Linked DNA regions of Homo sapiens: regions 2, 3, 4, 5 and 6 are each linked to region 1. The links are contacts of gene promoters, found by promoter capture Hi-C in blood cells and fetal thymus (Javierre and others, 2016). All regions are on one chromosome and are shown on one strand. Each heading gives the region's core, a stretch centred on a gene start or on the middle of the fragment in contact. The rest is flanking DNA. Distances are from core to core; before and after follow the strand shown. Region 1 holds the start of ADRA1B (adrenoceptor alpha 1B). Region 2 overlaps LOC105377684 (a long non-coding RNA gene). Region 3 overlaps LOC105377684 (a long non-coding RNA gene). Region 4 overlaps LOC105377684 (a long non-coding RNA gene). Region 5 has its middle 170 kb from the start of LINC01845. Region 6 has its middle 190 kb from the start of LINC01845.

Region 1 (4,083 bases), core at 739-3,238:
TCAAATCTTCAAATACAGCTTAGGGCAATTTAATTATAATAGAAAATAATCCATTTTCAGGACTGTCTCTACCACAGATTTCTTAACCCGAGGGAAACCCCCTGAAATTGTGTATTTTGCACATGTGTGGAGTCTGTGCACTTTGCTGGGAGTAAATTAAAACCTTCGATACGTGTATGATAACCACCTGCCTCCCTTCTCAAAAAATAAAAATAAAAAGAGGTTAAGAGCTTACCTCTAGGTTGAGAAGCTTAGATGTAAGTCATCCTGAGTGACTTCTGTTTTCCCCACCCGTGAATATCAAGTTATAACAAGTATCAAGAGCAGAAGGTGAGAAACCCAAGATGCAGGCTTGTGAACTGGAGTAAAAGAAGGTATCAGGCTTTACTTTTCAATCTCCAGCTGCCACTGCCCATTGCTCTGCCATATATTTGCTAGCCTATGACCTCAGGAATCAACTGACTCTCTCTGAACCACTGTTTCTCATCTCTCAATGAACAATGGTTATGCTTCTCTCAAAGAATTGTAAAGTCTCAAAGAAACTGAGTAAATGCATGGCTATCAGTAAGCGCTCAATTCATGGGAGTCCCTGCCCAGCACCAGTGGCTCAGGCCCCAAAATTAACTACTCAAAAGGCAGCTCCATCTATAACAGTGGTTCCATCCCCTACCTTGCCCCGGGGGAAAAGTATGACACAGTAGCTGAGTACCCAACTTTGGGAGAGACCCCACAGTTGAGTTCAGTTCCCAGCAGCTCTCCTCCATGCCTTTGTGAACTTGGGCGAACAGCTAAACTTCCCCATAATTTGGTGTCTCATCCATGAAATAGAAATGGTGAAGAGTGTATTCTTTCTCTCATGAGAGTCATGAGAAAATGCAAAAAGAACTCAGCACACTGTCTAGGACAAAATAAATGTTGGATAAATGTGAACTAACATAAAGTTCTTTGGCTTTTTCTTTCTTTCTTTCTTGGCCCATACTTTCTCTTCTAAGTACCATTCACCCACCTTTGGGAGTGCGTCCCTGTGACTGAATGTCCAACATGGATATCAGACAGAAAGGAAAAAACTCAACAAATAACCAAGATCCTCTACGTCCCTTCCCCAGGTCTCTGACCTCCCTCACCCCCACTCCCAGATAGCCAGCTAGCTTCCTCCCTCAATTCCCTTCATGTTTCCTCAAATATCACTTCAGTGACATCCCAAGCACCCACTTAACATTTCAAATCCACCCCACAAACACCCCACTGCATTTCCCCCTCCTTACTTTATTTTCAGCCTAACACCTGTCATCACATTACACACCTCATCATTTGCTTATTTAGTATACTGTCTGTCTTCTGTCGGGAGAAGCTACGCTCCTATAGGGCAGGAGTCCGTCTATTTTGTTCAGTTGCTATGTTCACAGCGCCCAGAGCCAGGGCAGAGAGTGGAGACTCCGTAAGAATCGGCTGAATAAATGAGTGAATGCCTGAGCGAATGAAAGGATGAAGAGAAGCCAGATTTTACTGGGGCCAAAGAGTTTGCACGGGGCGAGGGGAGCCAGATGAAGGATGAGGGCTGGCCTCAGATCCGACTCAAGTCCCTCCCACCTGCCCAATCCTAGAATTCTCTTTCCCTCTTTTAGGTGCTGGACAAGTTGCATATCCCGTTAAATCCGGGGCCCACTCCGGGAGCCCCCTATTAAAGGTAAGCAGCCCCCAACCCACCTTTGACACGGAAGAGTGACTAGCGGGGAAAATAACCCCAGCGGGCCGCCTAGGGGTGGGTGACCCGCGATCTCCACGCCCAGGTCCCGCCCTCGCGGCCCCTGCCCCCGCCCCGCCCCCCGCAGAGGGCGCGCCCTGGGAGCGGCGGGGGACGCGGCTGGCTTCCCGGCTTGCGGGGTGGCGGCGTCGGGGCTGCGGGCGCCTTGGCTGGACCCGCATTGCCCCCTAGTGCCGCGCGGAGTCAGGGCGCCGGGCTCCCCCGCCTGATGTCACCGCCGTGCAGTCAGCCCAGAAGCGGCTCATTGAAAGCAGACCCTCTTCGGCGCTCGCTGGGCGGAGGACGCGCCGCGGTCCGCAGACCCGAGCGAGCTGGGCACCGCCGGGCGCCCCCGGCCCTGCCGCCCCCTCCTCCCCGCCGCTCCCCCGCGAGCCCGGCCAGGCGCGCCTGACGTGGACCATTAAACTTGGAGCTGCCGCCTCGTCCCCTCTCCTCCTCCTCCTCCCTCTGACAGGCGAGCGAGCGACTCGGTGCAGGCAGGAGACGTGCTGCCGGGCTGGGCTGCCCGGGGGAGATGACTCCTCGCCAGGAGGGCGCCTCTGGGAAGAAGACCACGGGGGAAGCAAAGTTTCAGGGCAGCTGAGGAGCCTTCGCCGCAGCCCTTCCGAGCCCAATCATCCCCCTGGCTATGGAGGGCGGACTCTAAGATGAATCCCGACCTGGACACCGGCCACAACACATCAGCACCTGCCCACTGGGGAGAGTTGAAAAATGCCAACTTCACTGGCCCCAACCAGACCTCGAGCAACTCCACACTGCCCCAGCTGGACATCACCAGGGCCATCTCTGTGGGCCTGGTGCTGGGCGCCTTCATCCTCTTTGCCATCGTGGGCAACATCCTAGTCATCTTGTCTGTGGCCTGCAACCGGCACCTGCGGACGCCCACCAACTACTTCATTGTCAACCTGGCCATGGCCGACCTGCTGTTGAGCTTCACCGTCCTGCCCTTCTCAGCGGCCCTAGAGGTGCTCGGCTACTGGGTGCTGGGGCGGATCTTCTGTGACATCTGGGCAGCCGTGGATGTCCTGTGCTGCACAGCGTCCATTCTGAGCCTGTGCGCCATCTCCATCGATCGCTACATCGGGGTGCGCTACTCTCTGCAGTATCCCACGCTGGTCACCCGGAGGAAGGCCATCTTGGCGCTGCTCAGTGTCTGGGTCTTGTCCACCGTCATCTCCATCGGGCCTCTCCTTGGGTGGAAGGAGCCGGCACCCAACGATGACAAGGAGTGCGGGGTCACCGAAGAACCCTTCTATGCCCTCTTCTCCTCTCTGGGCTCCTTCTACATCCCTCTGGCGGTCATTCTAGTCATGTACTGCCGTGTCTATATAGTGGCCAAGAGAACCACCAAGAACCTAGAGGCAGGAGTCATGAAGGAGATGTCCAACTCCAAGGAGCTGACCCTGAGGATCCATTCCAAGAACTTTCACGAGGACACCCTTAGCAGTACCAAGGCCAAGGGCCACAACCCCAGGAGTTCCATAGCTGTCAAACTTTTTAAGTTCTCCAGGGAAAAGAAAGCAGCTAAGACGTTGGGCATTGTGGTCGGTATGTTCATCTTGTGCTGGCTACCCTTCTTCATCGCTCTACCGCTTGGTAAGTTGGGGACTAGCAGCAGGGGGACTGGGCATTTTTGGACCTTGGGTTTACTGATGAGCTTACTCTAAAGTTTTTTGTGGGTTTTGTTTCTTATGCAGTCTGTGCGTGTTCGGAGATTGAATAATATTGTTTGTTCTGCAAAGGGTTTGCAGATTGGGGAGCTGGCTAAAAACCAACTCAGGTGTTAGTAGAACACGCTAAGGCACTAGCTTCTGGAAATAGAACCAGGGAAGGAAAATCTGGTATGAGGAATGACTCACTCAACAGCCTCGGTTTAATAATTAAAAAGGATATTCACTGGGCTTGAATATCACACCGGCGTTATTTCAGTAGTAATGATGTGTCGGCTAAGGCAGCGTCACTAATGCAGCATACAAAATAGTTTGTAGTTACTGCAGACGCGGCATTTGGGAAGCAGGGAGGCAGCTCGTACACAGAAAGGCAGCATTCATTCAGCATTTCCAGGGCTAGAGCAGAAGCCACGCTTCTCAAGAGCTTTGCAGAGGCTGCATTCTCTCCCTCCCCTCTTCACTGACAGCTATCACCCAGATATACTACGTTCATTATCCGTTAATAAGAGCATTTTACAGCCACACAGCCCCAACCAGCCTTTAAGTTATTGAAAGCTTGAGATGTGAAAGAGAAGATGACTAGAGGGTCACACATTTTTAGTTTTTACCCAAAAATGTTTCTAACTCTAGTGATTTATGGAATGCCCA
Region 2 (4,083 bases), core at 957-3,456, 330 kb before region 1:
CAGAGGCAGTAAGCTAAGCCATGCATAGATTCTTGGCCCAAAGAAACTATAAAATAATAAGTTTTTGTTTTAAGTCACTAAGTTATGTTTTAAGTCACTATGTTTTAGGGTAATTTGTTACAAAGCAAAAGATAACTAGCACAACTGCCTTCTCACATGCTACATTTATTAGATTGCATGGAATTATTAGCTACATTCTTTACAATGCTCTACTACATCTAATCCTCACCATGACCTGGTAAATTACTGATATTATTCTCATTTTGTAGATAAAGCAACTGTCCATCAGAAAGATTGAGTAACTTGACCAAGGTAACACATCTAAAGGTGAATCAGGTTTTTGACCACAGATTTGGTCAACCCCCAAACTCTCAAGCTAGACTTGATTTGCACAATACCATTGAGCTGGGATCAGAATGCATTCCTCTTGATTTCAAGGTCCATTTTTTTTCCTGTTTCTCATTTAAAAAAATAAACCTTCAAATGAAAGAAAGATTATATGAGATGGAAAGATTCAGGTGGACATAATGATATTCAGTGTCTACCACTACTTCTTTCTAATCCTCATCTGCAAAAGAAGGCCTTTGAGCAAAGGATTGGGCAAATGCTATTTCTTACAAAGTTACCGCACCTGGAATCTAATTGTATTAATCTTCTCAGGTTTCCATAACAGAATACCAGAGGTTGGATGGCTTAAACAACAGAAATTTGTTTTCTCACAGTTCTGGAGGCTGAAAGTCTGAGACCAAGGTGCCAGCATGTTCAGTTTCTGCTCTGGCCCCTCTTCCTGAGTTGTAGATGTCCACCTTCTTGCTTTGTTCTAACACGGCTCTCACAGAGAGAGAGGGTTCTCTAGTGTATCCTGTTCTTGTAAGGACACTAATTCCATCAGATTAGGACACCTTATAACCTCATTTAACCTTACTTCCCTAAAAGCCATATCTCCAAATACCATCACATTAGAGGTTAGGGCTTCAAGATAGGAATTTTGCGGGGGTGCTGGTAGGGGACATAATTCAGTTTATAATATAAATTGACATTCATTTATTGGCCACTAGATCCAAAACTGGATAGAGATTAAGGATGCCACTCCCAGTGTATAAGCCTGAAACTTGATGTGGAAAGGGACCAAGAGATATCCAGTAACCAAATCAACTTCTTACCTCTCTACTCCTTGATTTCTGACAGACACACTGAGACTGATAACCCTGCAGTGGAGGCCTGAACTTAGGCTATGTGTAGCATTAGTAAATGGCTCAAACAACTCCAAACTCCTCATTTTACAAATGAGGACCTTGAAGCTCAGAAAGATAAAATGACTTGCCCAGGGTTGCAGAGCTGGCTAGTGGCAGGGCCAGGCTTGGGTTTAAGTATAATGGCTTTCACCCTCATGCCCCTTCCCCTTGGCCAGGCTAGAAGATGGGTGTCCTGAGAAACCCTCAGAAGGAGAACACTGGACAAATCCTTGAAGTCTCCCGGGCACGTGGGGATTGTGATGGAGGGGTGTATTGTGTGTGTGAGTGTGTGTATGTGGAGTGTTGCTGGGCAGCACAAGACAGCATAGCTGGCACCTTTGTTTTCCTCATGATTCAGTTTCTTCTCTTGGGCCCCTCTTCCTGTGTAAAATAAAAGCCCCTCCTGGCAGTTTACTAAGGGTAGGGATTGACAGACTTTTTTTTTTTTTAGGCTCTTTAGGCCAGACGATCTCTCTTGCAACTCAACCCAGCCATTGCCGCTTAAAAGTAGCCATAGACCATGTATAATCAAATAGGTGTGGCTGTGTGCTAACAAAACTTTATTTACAAACAGAGAGCAGGCTGGATTTGTTCTAAGGATATATTTTGTAGAGCTGCTAGAGCTAGGGTGCTTTCTTTGTCCCTGACAAACATCCTCACATGAACTTACTCATCCCTTTTCTTATTTTGCCAAGTTCTCAGATTCTGAAGACCAGGACTCCTCATGAATCTGTCAGCCCCCCTCACCCCAGCTCTGGGCCTCTGTGTCACCACCACTGCCACCTCATCATTATTTTATTTCATGCCAGTCACTAGACTAAACACCTTACAGGCTTTATCACATTTAATTCCTTCAGCAACACCAACAGGTAAGTATCACTCCACATCTAACACGACTTGCCTGAGGCTTAAAGAACTAAGTAACTTGTCCAAGGTTGTTGTAAATACTAAGTGCAGATTTTTACCTTTTTTTTTAAAAAAAAATTTGTGAATCCCAAGCTCTTAATAAAATCTCTACTAACTCCTGAGTAGATGGTTTTAAACTAGCACAATGAGAAAAATCACCAAAGTTAAAAGAATATAGAGTAACAAGCTGAACCCTTTAATCTCAATTGTAGGCCTAGAGATCTAGAGCAGTGCTCACTAGGCCAGGGAACAAATGAAGGTGAGCATCAGATTCTGCTGGGGAGATTGTTAAAATGCACATTCCTGGGCCCCGCTCTCAGTTATTCTAATTTCTTAAACACAGGAGGAGACCCAGGAATCTGCATTTAAGCGAGCATCCCAGATTCTAGGACCAGTGAGAGGCACACAACTTCTGAGGTCCTACTAAAAAAATGCTGTCATCAGACTTGATGCAGCTAAGATGCTTTGGGGCATCTACTTCTGCATCTCCGGTCCTTTTGGATGGCTCAGCAGCATGACAGCTCTCGCTCTGATTCAGCACTAATGTCCTAACATTATGCTCCTTAGAAAGCATAACTGCTGTACTTTAAGTACAGCCCCAGGAGAATGAGAGCTCTGGTTTTCTTTCCTTTTCTCTTCTCCTCTTTTATTTCTCAATTCTTGGCATGTCTATGAATATCAAATGAGTGAATTTTATCAGAAACTTTTAATTTCTTAATGTGGCCCTTTCAAGCCCCCCCCAGGACTTCGGGGAAAAGAGAAAGGGCTCATTTCAATTTGAACCTTCAGTAATCGCACTAATACAAATAAGCAAGGGATGACTACTTGGCACATACATGGTTGGTATTTATGAGAATGTGGAGGTTAATGCAGATTTTGCATGCACGATTTTTTTCTTCTGCTTGGCGATTTAGGCACTCACATCTCTACCCCACCAGCAGCGTCTTAGAGGCAGTGAGAACTCTATTTTAGAAGGTGAGTCTGTCCTTTCAAGTTGACAACTTGCTTGCCTTTCGGTCCAACCCCAGTCACCTGCCCCAGACCCATTCTAGAAGTGTCCCATTCTCCTCATGAATGAGAAATGAATGTGCTGTTGCAGGCTCGCAGGCACAATGCATCATTCTGAGTGTGTGCTGGGCTCCTCGGCTTATATTCCAAACATGCTGTGAATGCTCAATTGCAACCACTGGGTTTCTTCAACCTGACTTGCAATCAAATGGATATCGTTTGTGCGGGGGTGGTAGAAAGTGAGTAATGGTGTGTAGTTTCATGGAGATGCTTGTTCTAATAAAATATTTCAAGGTCCAGTGTTCCAAATCTCATTACAATTTTGCTATGAAAAGAAATGGGGTATGTATGTGTGTGTATTTGTGAGAAACTGGTAACAGGTAAGGTTTCTTTCTTTCTTTCTTTCTTTCTTTTTTTTTTTTTGAGACAGAATCTTGCTCTGTCACCAGGCTGGAGTGCAGTGGCACAATCTCAGCTCACTTCAACCTCCGCCTCCCAAATTCAAGCGATTCTCCTGCCTCAGCCTTCCAAGTAGCTGGGACTACAGGTGCACGCCACCACACCCAGCTATTTTTTGTGTTTTTAGTAGAGACGAGGTTTCACCATATTGGCCAGGATGGTCTCAATCTCCTGACCTTGTGATCGGCCCACCTCAGCCTCCCAAAATGCTGGGATTACAGGTTTGAGCCACCACACCTGGCCTATTTCTTAATCTGTTAGGAAAACAGAAAACAGCCCGGGAAAAGAAAGAAAACAGAAGTCAAGACGTCCCATCTGTGATACAGAATAACCCATGACTTAAGAATATTTCATGTAATGACTTCAAACTACAGTAAGACTTCAGTACTTAAGAGCATAGATGTTGGAGTGAGATGGTTGGGTCTAAATCTTGGCTCCACCATTCATTGGCTCTGTGTCTTTGGGAACCTTCCAT
Region 3 (4,083 bases), core at 659-3,158, 310 kb before region 1:
TCCTATTAGGCCCACCTCCAATAATGGGGATCACATTTCAACATGAAATTTGGATGGAAAAAATATCCAAAGTATATCACTTTATATACTCAATTTCCTTATAAGGAAGTTTTATGTCACTGTTATTAATGGAAAAAACAGTACAATTTGCCATATATGAAAAATATGGCTCAAACATTTAAAATAAATACATAGCCATTAAATAAAAGTATACTTCTATATAATCTAAACTCAATTTAGCACCAATGGTATTGAAATGACATTTTGGGAAACATTTCCATAGATGCGCATATTTCTTGGGTTTCTGCCCTACATCATCTTTTCATATGCTTTCCATGGGTGAACTCATCAACAGCCAATGATCTCAATTTCTGCCTTGTTCCAACAACAATTCTCTGATGACAACTGGGTGTCTTGCAATTTAATTCAATTCTGACACTAACTACCCAGAGTTAGCGCAGACCCCACAAGTTAAGAACAACATCCTTCACAAGATTGCCCCCACTTCAGACACCAAACGTCAGTCTCAGTCAGCCACTGACTGACCAGCTACAAATTCAGGGGTTTCTATGACTCTCTCAGGTTCAGTAATTTGCTAGAACAGCTCATAAACTCTCTGAAAGTGCTATTCACATGATTACAGTTTTATTATAAAGGATACAACCCAGGAACAGCTAAACAGAAGAGGCACATAAGACAAGGTCTTGGGAGGGGAAGGACACTGAGCTTCTCTGCCCTCTCCTCTAGGAATCCAGGCATATTTATCTCTCAGCACATCAGTTGTTCACCAACCAGGAAGCTCCTTTGAGCCTTGGTTTCCAGAGTTTTTACTGGGGCTTCATTATGGTTGATGGATCAGATCACCGATGACTGATCAAATCACGATTGATTAAATCACTGGCCATGTTGTTGAGCTCAGTCTCCAGCCTCACTTCTCTCACTGGACATTATTGGGCTGGCAGCCTAAGGTTCTAACACTCTAATCATGGGATTGGTCTTCCTGGTGACCAGCCCCCATCCTAAAGCTATTTAGGAACCCAGCATGAGTCATCCCATTAGCATAACAAAGACATTGTTATTACTCAAGGTTTCAAAATCTTTGCACCAAGAACTGGGATAAAGACCAGATATATTCTTTATTATATCACATATATATATGGATGAATCACAAATTTATATTTCAGCTCCTACCTCTCATCTGAAATTGAGACTTTCAGATACAACTGCTACCTGGGTGTCTTTTTCAGGAGGTACCACTTGTATCTCCAAGCCATCAGTATTCATAAATAAATCCCCATACCCACCCCATCACCACCCCATCACCCTAACCAACGCATACACTCTCTTCCTCCTATATTTCTTCTTAGTAAATGTCATCATAACACCATTCTCCCAGCTACCTAAATCTGAACCTGGGTTTTACCTTTGTCTTTTCTTACTCACATATAGTTTCCTCCGTTTTGAAAGTTCGTCTTGCTTCCCCTTCTCTTTCTGCTTACTGTTTTGATCTTAGCTTAAAAGTCATGGTGTCCAGGAAGACTTTGCTGGTCTCCCAGGACGGATCAGGTGCTCCTGCACTTCCATAATCGTGGATGTGATCATTTCCTGTTTGTCTCTCTTGCCTAGTACCTTGGTGAGGGCAGTAATTGAGTCTATCTTATTCACTTTCATACCCTTGTACCTGGCACATAGTTGACGCTCAATAAATAATTACCCAGCAAATGGATAACATGATACAAAGTTGGAACATTTCAAAATAAGACTTCTTATAGATAACTACTTTCTATACCAGTAATTTATCAACTTTCCAGTAGAGGATGCCTTGGCATAATCTTATTTTGAGAATTAAATAATTTGTTTGTTCATAATCGCTGCCTTATAAGTGTATTTATTCATACATTCGTTCTTTGGATATTTATTGAATATCTACTAATGTGAGAAGCAGTGCCCTGGTCCTTGGGGCTGGAAATGGGTGAAAACCTAGTCACAGTCTACTGAAGAATTATGTATTTCTATAAGCACAATTGCAATAAAATATCATGGGTCCTATAAAAAATGGATGAGGAACATATTGTAGGAAATATTCAGTGTGATTATATTGAATTATTGTTCTCAACTCTTTATTCCTTTCTATAAAGGATTATACACTCACAACCTCTGCCATATACTTTCTAGTGCCTGTCACAATAGTAAACAGAGTATACATACCTGCCCCTACTTACTTACTTGGACTTGGCTATGTGACTTTTTTTGGCCAATGAATATAGGCAGAAGTAAAATGAGAATACACCAATTCTGAGCAGACACTTTAAGAGACAGCAAGTTTCTGTCAAGCGTCTCAAACTTTTTACCTTTGAGTAAGGCGTACGTTCCCAGTAATCATTACTCTTTCAGCCTGAGTCCTGGAATAAAGACATACGGAGCAGGCATAAACCCAAACCACAGATTGGAGTCTAGCTTAGCCCAGCTGAGCAAAGCCAATTCACAGGCTGCCTATATCCCTATCAACATTAAATTGAATTTTTTTTTTGTTAGCTATTGAGGTTTGGGAGGAGGGTTGTTGCTACATAGAATTATTACAGCAGAAATCTGCTGATACACTGAGTATCCATCTGTCTACCAGTGCAGTATGAGACATGAGACATAAGGAAAAGGCTACATGGTTGTGCTCTTTCCCAGGACACAATGCTCCCAGTTCTCTGATGGTTGTAGACATTTAGTTAAAAAAAAAAAATAAAGCCAATACAATGAGCTCAGTGGTTTTTTCCGTATGATGTGAAACTTAAAAATTCAGATGTGGCAAGAAATAAACATGGGGTTCCCTAAAAAATCTGACGTAGCTGAGCCCAGAAGCTCATGCCTGTAATCCTAACATTTTGGGTGGCCAATATGGGAGGATCATATGAGGCCAGGAGTTCAAGACCAGCCTAGGCAACATAGTGAGACCCTGTCTCTACAAAAAAAAAAAAAAAAAAAAATTCACTAGCTGGAACTAGTGGCTTGCACCTGTAGTCCCAGCTACTTGGGAGGCTGAGGTGGGAGGAACACTTGAGACCAAGCGTTCAAAGCTGCAGTGAGCTATGATGGTGCCACTGCACTCCAGCCTGAGTGACAGAGTAATACTTTGTCTCAAAAAAAAAATTGTATATATATATATATATATATATATATATATATATATATATATATATATATCCTGGCCTATTTATAGCTGAAAAAGCTACCTTAGATTTACAGGCATTTCTCCAATAGCTTATTTTCAGAATGCAAGCTAGATGTAGTGGCATTGACCAATTAGGGCATTCAATTTTAACTGTGCAGAACATTAGAGTTCTGATAGAATCACTGTATAATTGTCATCACTTAAATAAGAAAAGTTGGTTTTCCAAAACACAGAAGCACACTGCTACTTGTAGGAGTGGTTGGTTTCTCAGTGTGAGTTTACTTTTGTCGACCATTTGTAGTTGTGAACTGTTCTATAATTTATTTTCATTTTGCACTAATAATGAGCAGCAAAAGTAATAAAACTGTATAAAAGAAACTCTCTAACTCCTAAACTCTTTTTCTCCATTTCAACAATTTTTTATTTGTTTTCAATGAGAAGTGGTCGAGCACAGTGATTAGGAAAAAACACTCTGAATTAGACTTATTTGAATTAGACTTTGAACCTAGGCACCATCAAGAATAGTGTAAAAATCATCTAAGCACTCGGCCTCAGTTTTTCATTTGTAAAATGAGGATCATAATAGTGCTTATCTTTAGGGCTGTGAGGAGTCAATGAAATGATCTTGTGAGACCTCAGCACAGTGTCTAACAGATAATAAGCAGTCAATAAATGACAGAAATTATTACAGGACAAATTTTGTTAGTGCAACTTTTCTTAGGAAAGCAGCTGTTTATTATAGAAAGACAGGCTGTGTCATGGCATTTGCCTTGACCTTCACTATTGAAAAAAAAAGCCTCAGGACCCAAATCATGATTAATTTATATGCTATGTTTATGAACAGCTAAGCTTTTTCTACTTTGGTTCTCTGAGAGGAATAAGGGTCAAAGACACAGAAAATTTGAACTCACCACAAAACG
Region 4 (4,083 bases), core at 724-3,223, 290 kb before region 1:
TTTGGAGACAGTTAGAAGATAGTGGATAGGAAACAGTACTAACATGCAGCTCTCACTTGGATGGAAGAACAGCATGTGGAGACTCACATTGTGAACTTTTGCAGTGAAACACACCAGGAAAACTGAAAGAGTTAACAGACTCTTTGAAAGAAGTGGCCTGCCACTGCAAACTTCCCAAGACAGCCTAAAAACTGAGTTCCCAAAGTGTGAGGGGGAAATGTCTGCCTCCGTACACACATTCCCACTGGGGAACCTGACAATCCAGATCATGGGAGAAGGATTTAACCTTACATAAAGCTGACATGGATTTAGGGAGTTGAACAAAATATAACAGTAGAAGAAGCAGTGAGAAGAGCCCTGTAGGTACTCCTGGTCCCCAGTTTGAGCCTAGGGAAGCTATTTCCAGCATTATCTCACAGGGCTCGTATGGAAGGCAGCCAGTGGAATTGAGGAGGAGCCACAGAATGAAGGAAGCTCCTAGTTGAACTCTAATAATTGTGACTGAGCATGAATTTTCCGAGCAGAATCTTGGGGCAAGGGTGGGGGTACAAATGGGAAATACTGATACGAGTGCAGAAGTACAGCTGACTATGTGGGCAGGCAGGGAGGGGCAAGGTGTGAGAGCCCTGCTTGCTTTCTCATCAGGGAGGCTCATAGCCTGGGGCAAGATCTCAGCCCTGCTCACCAGCTGTCTGGTGAGCACAGATATAAACTTTGTGCTGTTGGTGGGGCACAGTGGGAGTGAGATAGGCCTTTCTGGCTGTGTGAGAGCTGGGTGAGGCCTGTCACTTCCAGCTTTCCTCCACCTTCCTGGTGACCTGTATTACACAGCAGAGATAGCCATAATCCCCTCGGGAACACAATTTCACTGGCCTGAGAACTGGCCCCCATCCCCCACAGTGATCACAGCAAGCCCCACCCATGGAGAGTCTGAGCTCAGACATGCCTAACCCTGCCCCCACCTGATGGTCTTTCTCTATCCACCCTACTAGCTGAAGACAAAATATATAAACTCATGGAAGCTCTGTGGCCCCTCTCATTGCCTAAGAAACCCAAATACTTATCCAGGCATCTTAGGGTAAGCTTGTATCCCCTCTATACTACCACAGATGATGCTCTCTTGAAAGCCCTACCTTTTGGCTGGAGGTCAACCAACTCAAGCCATGACAGCAACTCAGGACAGAACAACCCTGCTCCAAAGAAGGAGAAAACGACAGCTCATTCCACTGCCTGCAACACCCTGGTGAACCAGAGGTCCTAAGTCTGTCCATGTGACCACTTCACTGCTAGCATAACAAGCATTCCAGAAAACTACTGCACTACACAAAACTACAACTGAGGACTCCCACAGAGTCCACTTCACTCTCCGGCCACCTCCACCAGAGAAGGTGCTGGAATCCATGGCTGAGAGACCCAAAGACAGATCACATCATAGGACTCTCTGCAAACATTCTTCAGCACCAACCCAAAACTTGGTAGCCTGGCAGGGTGGCTATACCCAGAAGGGCAATAACAATCACTGCAGTCTAGCTCTCAGGAAGACCCATCCCTAGGGGAAGACACATCAAGGGATCAGCCATGGGACAAAAGAATCTGAGCAGCAGCCTTGAGTTGCAGATCTTTCCACTGAAACAGTCTATCCAAATGAGAAGGAACCAGGAAAGTAATTCTGGTAATATGACAAAACAAGGTTCTACAACATCCCCCCAAAAATTACACTAGCTCTCCAGCAATGGATCCAAACCAAGAAGAAATCTCTGAACAGCCAGATAAAGAATTCAGAAGGTTGATTATTAAGTTTCTGGATTCAGAAGCTTAATAATCAACCTTCTGAATTCTTAAAAGCTTCTAATTATTAAGTTTTCTCCATATTATCAAGAAGATACCAGAGAAAGGTGAAAACCAACGTAAAGAAATTTTTAAAAAATATAGAATTTGGATGAAAAGCCTCCAGAGAAATAGATATCAAAAAAAAGAAAAGACAATCAAAACTTCTGGAAATGAAAGGCCTACTTAAAGAAATGCAAAATACACTGGAAAGTTTCAACAATAATATCAAACAAGTAGAAGAAAGAACTTCAGAGCTTGAAGGTTAATTCAAAAAGCTTTTGAATTAACCAAATCTGACAAAGACAAAGGAAAAAAAGTTTAAATGAACAAAGGCTCCAAGAAATTTGGGATAATGTTAAGTGACCAAACATAAGAATAATTGGTGCTCCTGAGAAAAAAGAGAAATCTAAAAGTTTGGCAAACTTATTTGAGAGAATAATCGAAGAAAACTTCCCCGTCTTGCTAGAGGTCTAGACATCCGAACACAAGAAACTCAAAGAACACCTGGGAAATTCATTGCAAAAAGATCATCACCTAGGCACATAGTCATCAGGTTATCTAAAGTCAAGAGGAAGGAAAGAATCTTAAGAGCTGTGAGGCAAAAGCATCAGGAAAACTATAAAGGAAAATCAATCATATTAACAGCAGATTTCTCAGCAGAAACTCTACAAGCCAGAAGGGATTAGGGTCCTATCTTTAGCCTCCTTAAACAAAACAATTATAAGCCAATAATTTTGTAGCCAGTGAAACTAAGCTTAATAAACGAAGGAGACAGAAAGTCTTTTTCAGACAAACAAATGCTGAGAGAATTCACCACTACAAAGCCAGCACTACAAGAAATGCTAAAAGGAGTTCTAACTCTTGAAACAAAGCCTCAAATACACCAAAATAGAACCTCCTTAAAGCATAAATCTCACACGGCCTATAAGACAATAGCAAAATGAAAAAACAAAAAGTATTCAGGCAACAATAGCATGATGTATAGAACAGCATCTCACATCTCAATACTAACATTGAATGTAAATGGCCTAAATGCTCCCTTTAAAAGATACAAAATGGCAAAATGAATAAAAAATCCACTAAGCATGTGCTGTCTTCAACAGACTCACCTAACTCATAAGGACTCACACAAACTTAAGATAAAGGGATGGAAAAAGATATTTCATGCAAATGGAAACCAAAAGTGAGCAGGAGTAGCTATTTTTATATTAGACAAGACAGACTTTAAAGCAACAACAGTTAAAAAAGACAAACAGGGACATTATATAATGATAAAAGGATTAGTCCAACAGGAAAATATCACAATCCTAAATAGATATGCATCTAACACTGGAGCTCCCAAATTTATAGAACAGTTACTTCTAGACCTAATAAATGAGATAGAGCAACACAGAAATAGTGGGGGACTTCAGTACGTCACTGACAGCACTCAATAGGTCATCAAGACAGAAAGTCAACAAAGAAACAGTGGACTTAAACTATACTCTAAAACAAATGGACTTAACAGATATTTACAGAACGTTCTATCCAACAACTGCAGAATATACATTCTTTTCATCAGCACATGGAAATTCTCCAGGATAGACCATAATATAGGCCAAAAAACAAGTCTTAATAAATTTAAGAAAATCAAAATTACATCAAGTATTCTCTCAGGCCACAGTGAAATAAAGGTGAAAATTAACTCCAAAAGAAACCTCAAAACTATAAAAATACATGGAAATTATAATCTGCTCCTGAATGACCTTTAGGTCAACAATGGAATTGAAATGGAAATTTAAAAATTCTTTGAACTTGAGGCAGGAGCATAGGGTCTGGGGCAGGGAACCCAAGGATTTCCTAGAACTAAAGCAAATGGAAAAACCCCAACTTTCTACAACCAGGTAAATAACTTTGTAACTCTATTTCAGCTATGACAGGAAACATTCTCTTCATTTGCATAGGGTATACACCAAGTACATAACTTTCTAACTTCACTTCAGCCTCTTCATTTACATAGAGCATACACCAAATAATCAATGGGAAACCTCCGGAGGTATTTAAACCCCAGAAAATTCTGTAATCCAGCTCTTGAGCCACTTGCTCAGGCCCACTCCCACCCTGTGGAGTGTACTTTTATTTTTAATAAATCTCTGCTTTTGTTGCTTCATTTTTTCCTTGCTTTGTTTGTGTATTTTGTCCTATTCTTGTCCAAAATGCCAAGAACCTGGACACCCTCCCCCAGTAACAACCTGAACAATAATACTGACACAA
Region 5 (4,083 bases), core at 1,156-3,655, 280 kb before region 1:
CATATTTTCTCTTTTCTTCTCTTAACTGATTCAAAATAAAATGTACAAATAATATGTATATAAGATATTATTGGGTCTATAACATATAGATATGTGATATATTTGTAATATGTTTGCCAATACAGTACAAAGGAGATGAGTGGTAGTAGATCTGTATTGGGCAAAAGAAATGACTACAGATGGTAAAGCAATAATTATAACAATGTAGTGTTGGGTTTCTAACATTAAGATGCAATATGAATGAAAATAATATCACAAAAAGGGAAATCAAGCTATATATGTAAAAAAACATTGCTATGTATCACTATAACTAAGCTAGCATAACTCTGAATCTAATTGCTATAAGTTAAAATGTATATGGCATACCCTAGGGTATTCACTTTGGAGAAAACTCAAAAACTAGTAAAACAGTTATTAAAGAAATTTAAATGCTTCATTAAAATTATTCACTTAATGCAAAGAAAGTAATGAAGGAAGACTAGGGAGACAAAAAACACAAGACACATAGAAAATAAAAAGTAAAATGCCAGACATAAATCCAATTATATCAATAAGACTGTAAATTTATTAAAGAATCTAATCAAAAGGCAAAGATTGTCAGACTGAATAAAAAACAAGATCCAAGTATGGGCTATCTACAGGAGGCACATTATGGATTCAAAGATACAAAGAAATCAAAAGAAAAAGAATGGAAAAAATATACAATGCAAACAGCAACCACAAGAAAGCTGAAGTAGCTATATGAATATCAGACAAAATAGATGCTAAAATGAGAAATGTTACTAAAGACAAACAGAAATATTTTATAATGATAAATGAGTCAATCCTTCAGGGAAATATATCAATCATAAACATATATGCCCCTGATAATACAACACAAAATACATGAAGCAAAAACTGACAAAAAAAGGCAGAAATAAATAATTCAACAATAATAGTTGGAAACTTTAATACTTCATTTTAACAATGGATAGAACAACTAAGCAGAAAATCAACAGGAAATAGAAGCTTCCTAACAATATTACAAACCAACTAGACTTAATAGACATCTACAGAATAGTCTACTCAAAAACAACAGAATGTACATTATTCTCAAGTGTATAAGGAATGTACTCCAAGATAGATCACATGCCATGTGAAATGAGAAATTAATAATGGAAAAAATTTAGGAAACTCACGGTAAGTGGAAATTAAAAAATATACTCCTACATAACCAGTGGATTAAAAAAGAATCAAAAGGAAAATCAGAAAATACTTCAAGATGAATGAGATTAAGACAAAACATACTAAAACTTATGGGATGCAGCTAAAGCAATGTTCAGAGGAAAACTTATAGTTGTAAATGCCTATGTTGAGAGAGAAAAAAAATCTTAAATCTATAACCTATCTTTTTACTTTAAGACACTAAGAAAAAGAAGTACAAACTAAACCTACAGAAAATAGCAGAAAGATAATAATAAAAATCACAGTTGAAATTAATAAAGTAGAGAACAGAAAAACAATGGAGAAAAAGTGATGATGCCAATCTAGTTGTCTTAAAATGTCAACCAAATTGACATACTTTTAGCTAGGTTGACCAAGAAAACAAGAAGACTCAGATACTAGAATCAGAAATGAAAGGATATCAATACTCACCTTGGAAAACTAAAAAAGATTATAAAGAAATATTATAAATCATTGTATGCCAATAAATTAGATAACTTAGATTAAATAGAGAAATTTCTAGAAAGACTGAAATAACTGAAACTTACTCAAGAATTAGACAATCTGACTAGACCTATAATAATAAGTCAAAAGATCAAATTAATAATAAAAATAATAAAAACCTACCTACAAAGTTAAGCCCAGGTCCAGGTGGCTTTCCTACTGAATTCTACTAAACATTTAAAGGAGAATTAGTACTATCTCTTTAAAAGTTTCCAAAACTTTAAATATTTTCTAGAAATTTAAGTATTTATTTAATGATTTTAAAGAAAAAGATCAGTATTACCCTAATATCAAAGCCATACAAAGACATCACAACAAGAGAAAACAAGAGATGAATATCTCTCATGAATAGGGGTGTAAAATTCTCAACTAAATACTAGCAACCTGAATCTAATAACATAAAATCCAGGAAATCTAATTTTCAGTCAAAACAAGGAAAATTTCTATTTTCAATGCAGTTCTGCCTCCATTTCTGATTCACAAACACACTTCCCAGGAAAGTAAGCCTCTTCTATAAGTATACATCTCATGCTAGTGTGCATGCAGCTTGAGAAGTCAGCTGCATGGAGAGGAGCTGGCAGAAATAAAAATTTTTCTGAAAAATTCAGAGAAAACAACAACTGTAATGTACATATCATTTTGCACAATGGCCCTTGGCCTCAGAAAATTATAGGGAAAGAACATAGATGATGTGAAGAAAAATAATATGAAGAAAATTAATTTTTGTTGGTTTTTCAGACTTTCTTGGAAGAAACAGTATTTCTTTCCTCATATCCATTCATGTTAAGAATTCCTAGGATGTCTCAAGCACACCCTCAATAATTTACAATTGTCAAGCCACAATTTGTAGACACTCACAACTTTAAATTAAAAGGAATTCCTAGAGAAAAGTTATAATAATTAGCTCTCATATTTGTGTTGTTTCAGTTAGGATGTTTTTGTCCATAAATAATAGAATATCAGATGAACAGTGGCTGAGACAATAAAGTCATTTATTATCTCACCTAGCAAGAAGCCTGCATGTAGGCAGTTCCTGGGCTGTTTCATCAGCTCAACAATGGCACTAAAGATTTAACATATTTCTACTTATTTCGTCATCCTTAACTGTTGGAGTTTTGTCCTCATGCTCATTGCCTTGTTATCATAAAACGGAAGCTACAGCCCTAGACATCACATCTGTGTTCAAGGCAGGAAGAAAGAAGAGATAACACAAATAAACTCTTCATTCATTGGTATCTTTTATGTAAAAAAACACAACAAATTTTTTTCCCCAAAGACTCTTGGCAGACTTTTGCATATATAGTTGACCCTTGAACAACATGGGGGTGAGAGGCACTAATCTCCATGCAGTTGAAAATTTGTGTATAACCTTCAACTCCCCAAAAACTTAACTGCAAATAACCTACTATTGACCAGAAGTGTTACCAATAACATAAATAGTTATTTAACACATATTTTCTATGTTATATGTATTAAATACTATATTCTTATGATAAAGCAAGAGAAAAATAAGACGTCATTAAGAAAATCATAAGAGAAAATATATTTACTATTCATTAAGTGGAAGTGGATCATCATATAGGTCTTCATCCTCATCATTGCCACACCGAGTAGGCCAAGCAGGAGGAAGAAGAAGAGAGTTGGCTTGCTTTCTCCTGGGGCAGAGTCAGGAGAATATCCATGTATAAGTGGACAAACAGTTCAAACTTGTGCTGTTCAAGGGTCAACTGTATACGACTAGACTGAACTGGGTCTCACAGCCATCCCTAAATATGAGTAAAGCTGGAGAAAAACCTGATTAGTAAAAGTGAAAGGCTGCTAAGATTGGCTTAAAACAACCATGATCTAGTTCTTGAAACGGAAAAAGTACTTCCTTGAACAAAATCAGGATTCTATTAGGGAGGAAGTTGAGAATGGCTGTTGGTTGGGCTCCTCACAGTGTATGCCACAAATGCCATGTAATGTTCTTTTCCCTGAGCTATTTTCCCTTCTATCCAATCCCATTCTTAGAGTCTCCCAAGGAGTTAGATAGGTTCTGTGTGTCACAGATAAGTAAAGTTAGACTCTAGTAAGTGAGCGGCTCAGAGTGCTCTCCAAAGCTTTCTAAAATATTTCTCAGAATGAAAGCTTAATTCTGTGGTTAAATTCTTTTGAGGAAATACTATCTTTAAAACATAGAGCACTTAAGCATCTCTTATAAGACAAGAGGTGTGCTAGATGCCTTAGATGTATTATCCAACTTAATCCTTTCAGCAAGCAGATGACATAGGTCCTGTTATGATCATCTTGTTTATGTAGATAAGCAACCCAAGCTTTTGATAGGTTAAATAACTTTTTCAATGACATACTAATGGTAGCAGTGGCTCATCTGGAGTG
Region 6 (4,083 bases), core at 878-3,377, 260 kb before region 1:
GCAGAGCTTGCAGTGAGCCGAGATCGCGCCACTGCACTCCAGCCTGGGCAACAGAGCGAGACTCTATCTCAAAAAAATAAATAAATAAATAAAAATAAAAGATAAAAGTCTTCTGGGATCAGAAGTCCCGGTGAAGGGGCGAATATTTTATGAGGGTTTTGGTAACACTTCACCAGGGGTACTTAGACTTCTTTGCCAAAGGTTAGAGAAAGTGGACTAAGACCCAAGGGGTCTGGGCTGCAACCCCCGGCCGCTTATCTTTGAAGTCTCTTGTTTTAAAACATCGTGTGAATTTTTCATTCCATTCCACAATATACAAATAAGGTTTTAAATTACCTTTGAGTAAAACTGACATTGCAGTATGACAGGTGGCATTTAGCCTGCGGCTCCACATAGGATAAATTATTCTGAGCACACATGCATAGAAGGAGCTCACACTTCAGCTTGAGACACAAGGCATTCAGCGAGGAGCAGGAATGCCACCATCAGATGAGCTGGAAGGTTTGCAAGGGAAGCCCTAGAGGGAGTGGAACTCCAGACCAGGGGGTTTCGATGAGGGTAAGACCACCTGGAAAGGTCTGGTTGCCAGGAGGGTGTAAGGTGGAGGGGTCACCTGGGTGATCTCAGGTCTTGGGGCTCTATATGATGGGATAAGGACCTAGGAAGGGATAAAGAAGTGCTGGGAGGCCAAGCATTGGCAGTGCCTGTTGACTATGGGTAGAAGGCAGGGAAACTGCCTGGGACTGGGTGATCAGGGAGCCCTTTGCTTTGGGATTCTGTAAATGAAGGACTTTGGGAAGTTCTCCACGGGGCCACTAGCAGGCTGAGATTTCTCTCCTGAGTGGAAACAGATTGCCAGAGCTTCAATCCCACAGCATATTTCACTGACAGATTGGGTGCGATTTTTCCCGAGATGAGGGCGTTTCAAAAGCAGAGGAGGAAAGGGAGGCTGGGAGGGGAAGGTGGGTGGGGGAAGACAGCTGTCAGCTTCAGTGTGGCTTCAGGACAGCTCTTGCAGATGTGGGCAGAGCAACAACTGCCAATTTCCCAAGCCTCGGGCGATTCTCCAAATCTGGGGTCACAGGAGGGTGGGGGCAATCCTGATTGTACAAGAGGGTCCTGAGAGGCTTTGGGGACACAGAGCCTAGCTTCAGGGTGGGCTCACTTTGCATGTGAAATGAACATAACTCCTTGTACCAAATTAAACCAATTTGATCAAAATTTGTAATGCAGAGGAGCATAATTAAATTGAAGATTTTAATTAGGCACAGTTTTGATGAAACTTAACGGGAGCCGGCAGGAACAGTCTTGCTGTCTGCTAAACATAATCCTGCCTGGTGAAGAGCTCTATAGTTGATGATCTTTAATGACTGCCCAGCTCTCAGCTTCGTAGATGGTGTTGCAGTCAGTTTGGAGGAGGCCGGGGAGGTGCGAGCAGACTGGGGGAGGAAGAAGTGAGGTGGGACTTGCATGCGCAGGGAGGTGTCTTGTCTCTTTCAAAGGAATGCTGCTGCTAAACTTTCGGGGTACCCAATTACTCGCTTTTCATCTGCCAAGGTGGAGAAATTCATAGTGGAGAATTACATTGAGGGCTGTTTTACAGTAATGAGGCAGGAAGGAGAGGGCAGGGCTCGCTCCTGGATTGAGAGGGCCTCTGCGGGACTTCTTTGCTAATTGCTTTGTGCCTCTCAATTTCACTTCACAAAGCTTGAATTTTCCCTTGGCTCCCAACAACAACAAAACACAATAAAAGGCCTCTGGGAACAGAGAGTGGGGAGAGCCCTCAGCTTTCAGGACTAGATGCTCAGAAGGGCCTGGCCAGGATCTGTTTCCCCAGCACAGTATTCAGTATATAGGGGAGATAGTAAACACCACATCACTGAAGGGATGAAGAAATGAACACAACAGTAAATGGATAAGTCATTTACCCTAGGACTCTCCTGACAAAGAGAAAGAGTTAAAAATATGAGCCAGTTGGTCGGGCGTGGTAGCTCACTCCTGTGATCTCAACACTTTGGGAGGCTGAGGCGGGTGGATCATGAGGTCAGGAGTTTGAGACCAGCCTGGCCAACATGGTGAAACCCTGTCTCTACTAAAAGTACAAAAATTAGCTGGGTGTGGTGGTGGGTGCCTGTAACCCCAACTATTCGGGAGGCTGAAGCAGGAGAATCATTTGAACCCGGGAGGCAGAGTTTGCAGTGAGCCAAGATTGCACCATTGCACTCCAGCCTGGGAAACACAGCAAGACTCCATCTAAAAAAAAAAAGAAAAAGAAAAGAAAAAAAGACAAAAAAGAACCAGTAATGTTTGCTGCCTTTTAACAAAAAGTACCTGTACTTGAAGAAGGAATCTTCCCCTCCTTTCTTCCTTTCTCTCTCCTTTTCTTCCTTTATGCAACATATGTTTACTGAGGCCTCACTGTATGGTCAGCACTTTACCAGGCTCTATATTCTGGCAGATCCTTAAGAGTCCAAGTTCCTTCCTGCCCTCATAGATCTAGCAGACTAATGCAAGAAACAGCAGTGGGCACATATTTATGATTTATAAGAAGCTTTGTGTAGGAATAACAGAGAAGTCATACTTTGGTTTAAATCAGGGATCAGCGAGTGACAGCTGAGGGCCAAATCATGCCATTGTCTATTGAAAATAAAGTTTTAATGGAACAGAACCATGTCCATTCATTTACATATATTCTATGGCTGTGTTTGCTACAATGTCAGAGTTGAAGATGGGTAGTTGTGACAGAGACCTCATGGCCTGCACAGCCTAAGATATTTACTATCTGGCTCTTTATAGAAGACATATGCCAACTCCTGGCTTAGATGGTCAGGGCAGACCTCTCAGAGAGGATGAGGTTTAGCTCAGATCTGGAGGAGAAGTTTAGCTGGTTGAGGGGTTCCATACCCTGGGGTTGGTGGGGAAAGAAGTGATGGCCCTGCAGTGGGGATAAATGTGGGGTGTTCAAGGACCTGGAGGAAGGTCGGTTTGATTGGAAGATGGTGATGGGAGGACACAGGGCCTGGATGAGATGGAAGAGGAGGGAGGGCCATTTTATTCAGAACCTTGTAATCTAGCTCCTGGAAAGGGATTTGGATAAGATTCTGAGTGCACTGGAAAGCTCCTGGAGGACTGTAAGCAGGAGCATGTTCTGATGTAATTTTTAAAGAGCACTCTGGCCACTGTGGTGAAGGTAGCTTACAGAGGTAAAACATTCAGATGTTGGTGGCTTGTATCAAGTTCATATTAGTACCAATGGAGAGTCATGGGCAGATTTGAGAGGTAAACTGACAGGATTTAGAAATACATTAAATGTTGGAGGGGGTAGTTAGGAAGAAGGAGAGGTCAAGAATGATCCCTCCCAGATTTTTGGCCTGAGCTGCTGGGTCCCATTTGCTGAGATTAGGAAGACTTGGACTGGGGTAAAAAGAAGTTTGGGTGGGTGATTTAAGAATTCAGTACTTTTTGTCCTTCTTCAAATTGAGATTCGTGTGAGACTCCCAAGTAAAGGTGACAGGGAGACAGTTGAATATATGACCCTGAAGTGCAGATGAGAGGCCCAGGCTAAAGATAAAAATGTATGAGTCATAGGCATAGAGATGGTATTTAAGCAATGAAGTTGGATGAGCTCACCTAGGGCAGGAAGTAAGGAGAAAGGGAATAGGACCCATAACTGATGATTTTTCGAAGATGCTTAGCTTTAGTTTGTCATATTACTACTCCTTGCTATTTATCAAAGACTGAGAGTAAAACACTAAAATACTAAAGAGACTTAATTAAGGAATATGCTTAAAGAAATTCAATGAATTATTCTTAGGCATATAGGTATATATAGTTATTCATACACTTAAGAATAATTCATTGCATTTCCTTAAGCATATTCCTTAATTAGATGACCCCCCACGAAAATTGGCATCAAATGAAGGGCCTTGTATATTTCTATATAATGAAAATGTAAGTAGAATATGCATTGCATAAATGGTACATGAATCGTTTGCTCTTCTGAACATTTTACATCCTTTTTCAAGTTAACTGCTAGTTGACTTATTTAAAGTGGTGGTTGTCAATCACAGCTGCCCAGCACAA

What was found. The method cuts DNA at HindIII sites, captures the fragments that hold promoters and counts their contacts. A CHiCAGO score of 5 or more calls a contact.
Region 2: a fragment that was not itself captured here is called in contact with the fragment with the promoter of ADRA1B in region 1 in 3 of 17 cell types (endothelial precursors, megakaryocytes and M1 macrophages); the score reaches 7.1 in endothelial precursors.
Region 3: a fragment that was not itself captured here is called in contact with the fragment with the promoter of ADRA1B in region 1 in 2 of 17 cell types (M2 macrophages and megakaryocytes); the score reaches 6.5 in M2 macrophages.
Region 4: a contact is called between a fragment that was not itself captured here and the fragment with the promoter of ADRA1B in region 1, in 1 of 17 cell types (megakaryocytes). The highest score is 5.5, in megakaryocytes.
Region 5: a fragment that was not itself captured here is called in contact with the fragment with the promoter of ADRA1B in region 1 in 1 of 17 cell types (megakaryocytes); the score reaches 11.8 in megakaryocytes.
Region 6: a fragment that was not itself captured here is called in contact with the fragment with the promoter of ADRA1B in region 1 in 2 of 17 cell types (M1 macrophages and megakaryocytes); the score reaches 5.8 in M1 macrophages.

The regions. Positions count from the first base shown.
Region 1 is chr5:159,914,494-159,918,576 of GRCh38, forward strand. ADRA1B (adrenoceptor alpha 1B) reads left to right here and starts at 1,989. Exons shown (of 2, transcript NM_000679.4): 1 at 1,989-3,361. The coding sequence starts at 2,413. RefSeq lists a silencer at 1,823-1,882 and enhancers at 1,946-2,562, 2,563-3,179. The HindIII fragment of the contact is 3,740 bases long and covers 249-3,988 here.
Region 2 is chr5:159,583,811-159,587,893 of GRCh38, forward strand. LOC105377684 (a long non-coding RNA gene) reads left to right here. Exons shown (of 20, transcript XR_941139.3): 15 at 1,931-2,104; 16 at 3,056-3,116. Among named protein-coding and RNA genes, the nearest start is that of LINC01845, 120 kb to the left of the region's middle. The HindIII fragment of the contact is 4,838 bases long and covers 1-4,083 here.
Region 3 is chr5:159,601,598-159,605,680 of GRCh38, forward strand. All of the region lies in intron 16 of LOC105377684 (a long non-coding RNA gene), which reads left to right. Among named protein-coding and RNA genes, the nearest start is that of LINC01845, 140 kb to the left of the region's middle. The HindIII fragment of the contact is 4,203 bases long and covers 1-4,010 here.
Region 4 is chr5:159,620,637-159,624,719 of GRCh38, forward strand. All of the region lies in intron 19 of LOC105377684 (a long non-coding RNA gene), which reads left to right. Among named protein-coding and RNA genes, the nearest start is that of LINC01845, 160 kb to the left of the region's middle. The HindIII fragment of the contact is 260 bases long and covers 1,844-2,103 here.
Region 5 is chr5:159,636,346-159,640,428 of GRCh38, forward strand. No RefSeq gene overlaps it. Among named protein-coding and RNA genes, the nearest start is that of LINC01845, 170 kb to the left of the region's middle. The HindIII fragment of the contact is 2,798 bases long and covers 1,007-3,804 here.
Region 6 is chr5:159,657,032-159,661,114 of GRCh38, forward strand. No RefSeq gene overlaps it. Among named protein-coding and RNA genes, the nearest start is that of LINC01845, 190 kb to the left of the region's middle. The HindIII fragment of the contact is 844 bases long and covers 1,706-2,549 here.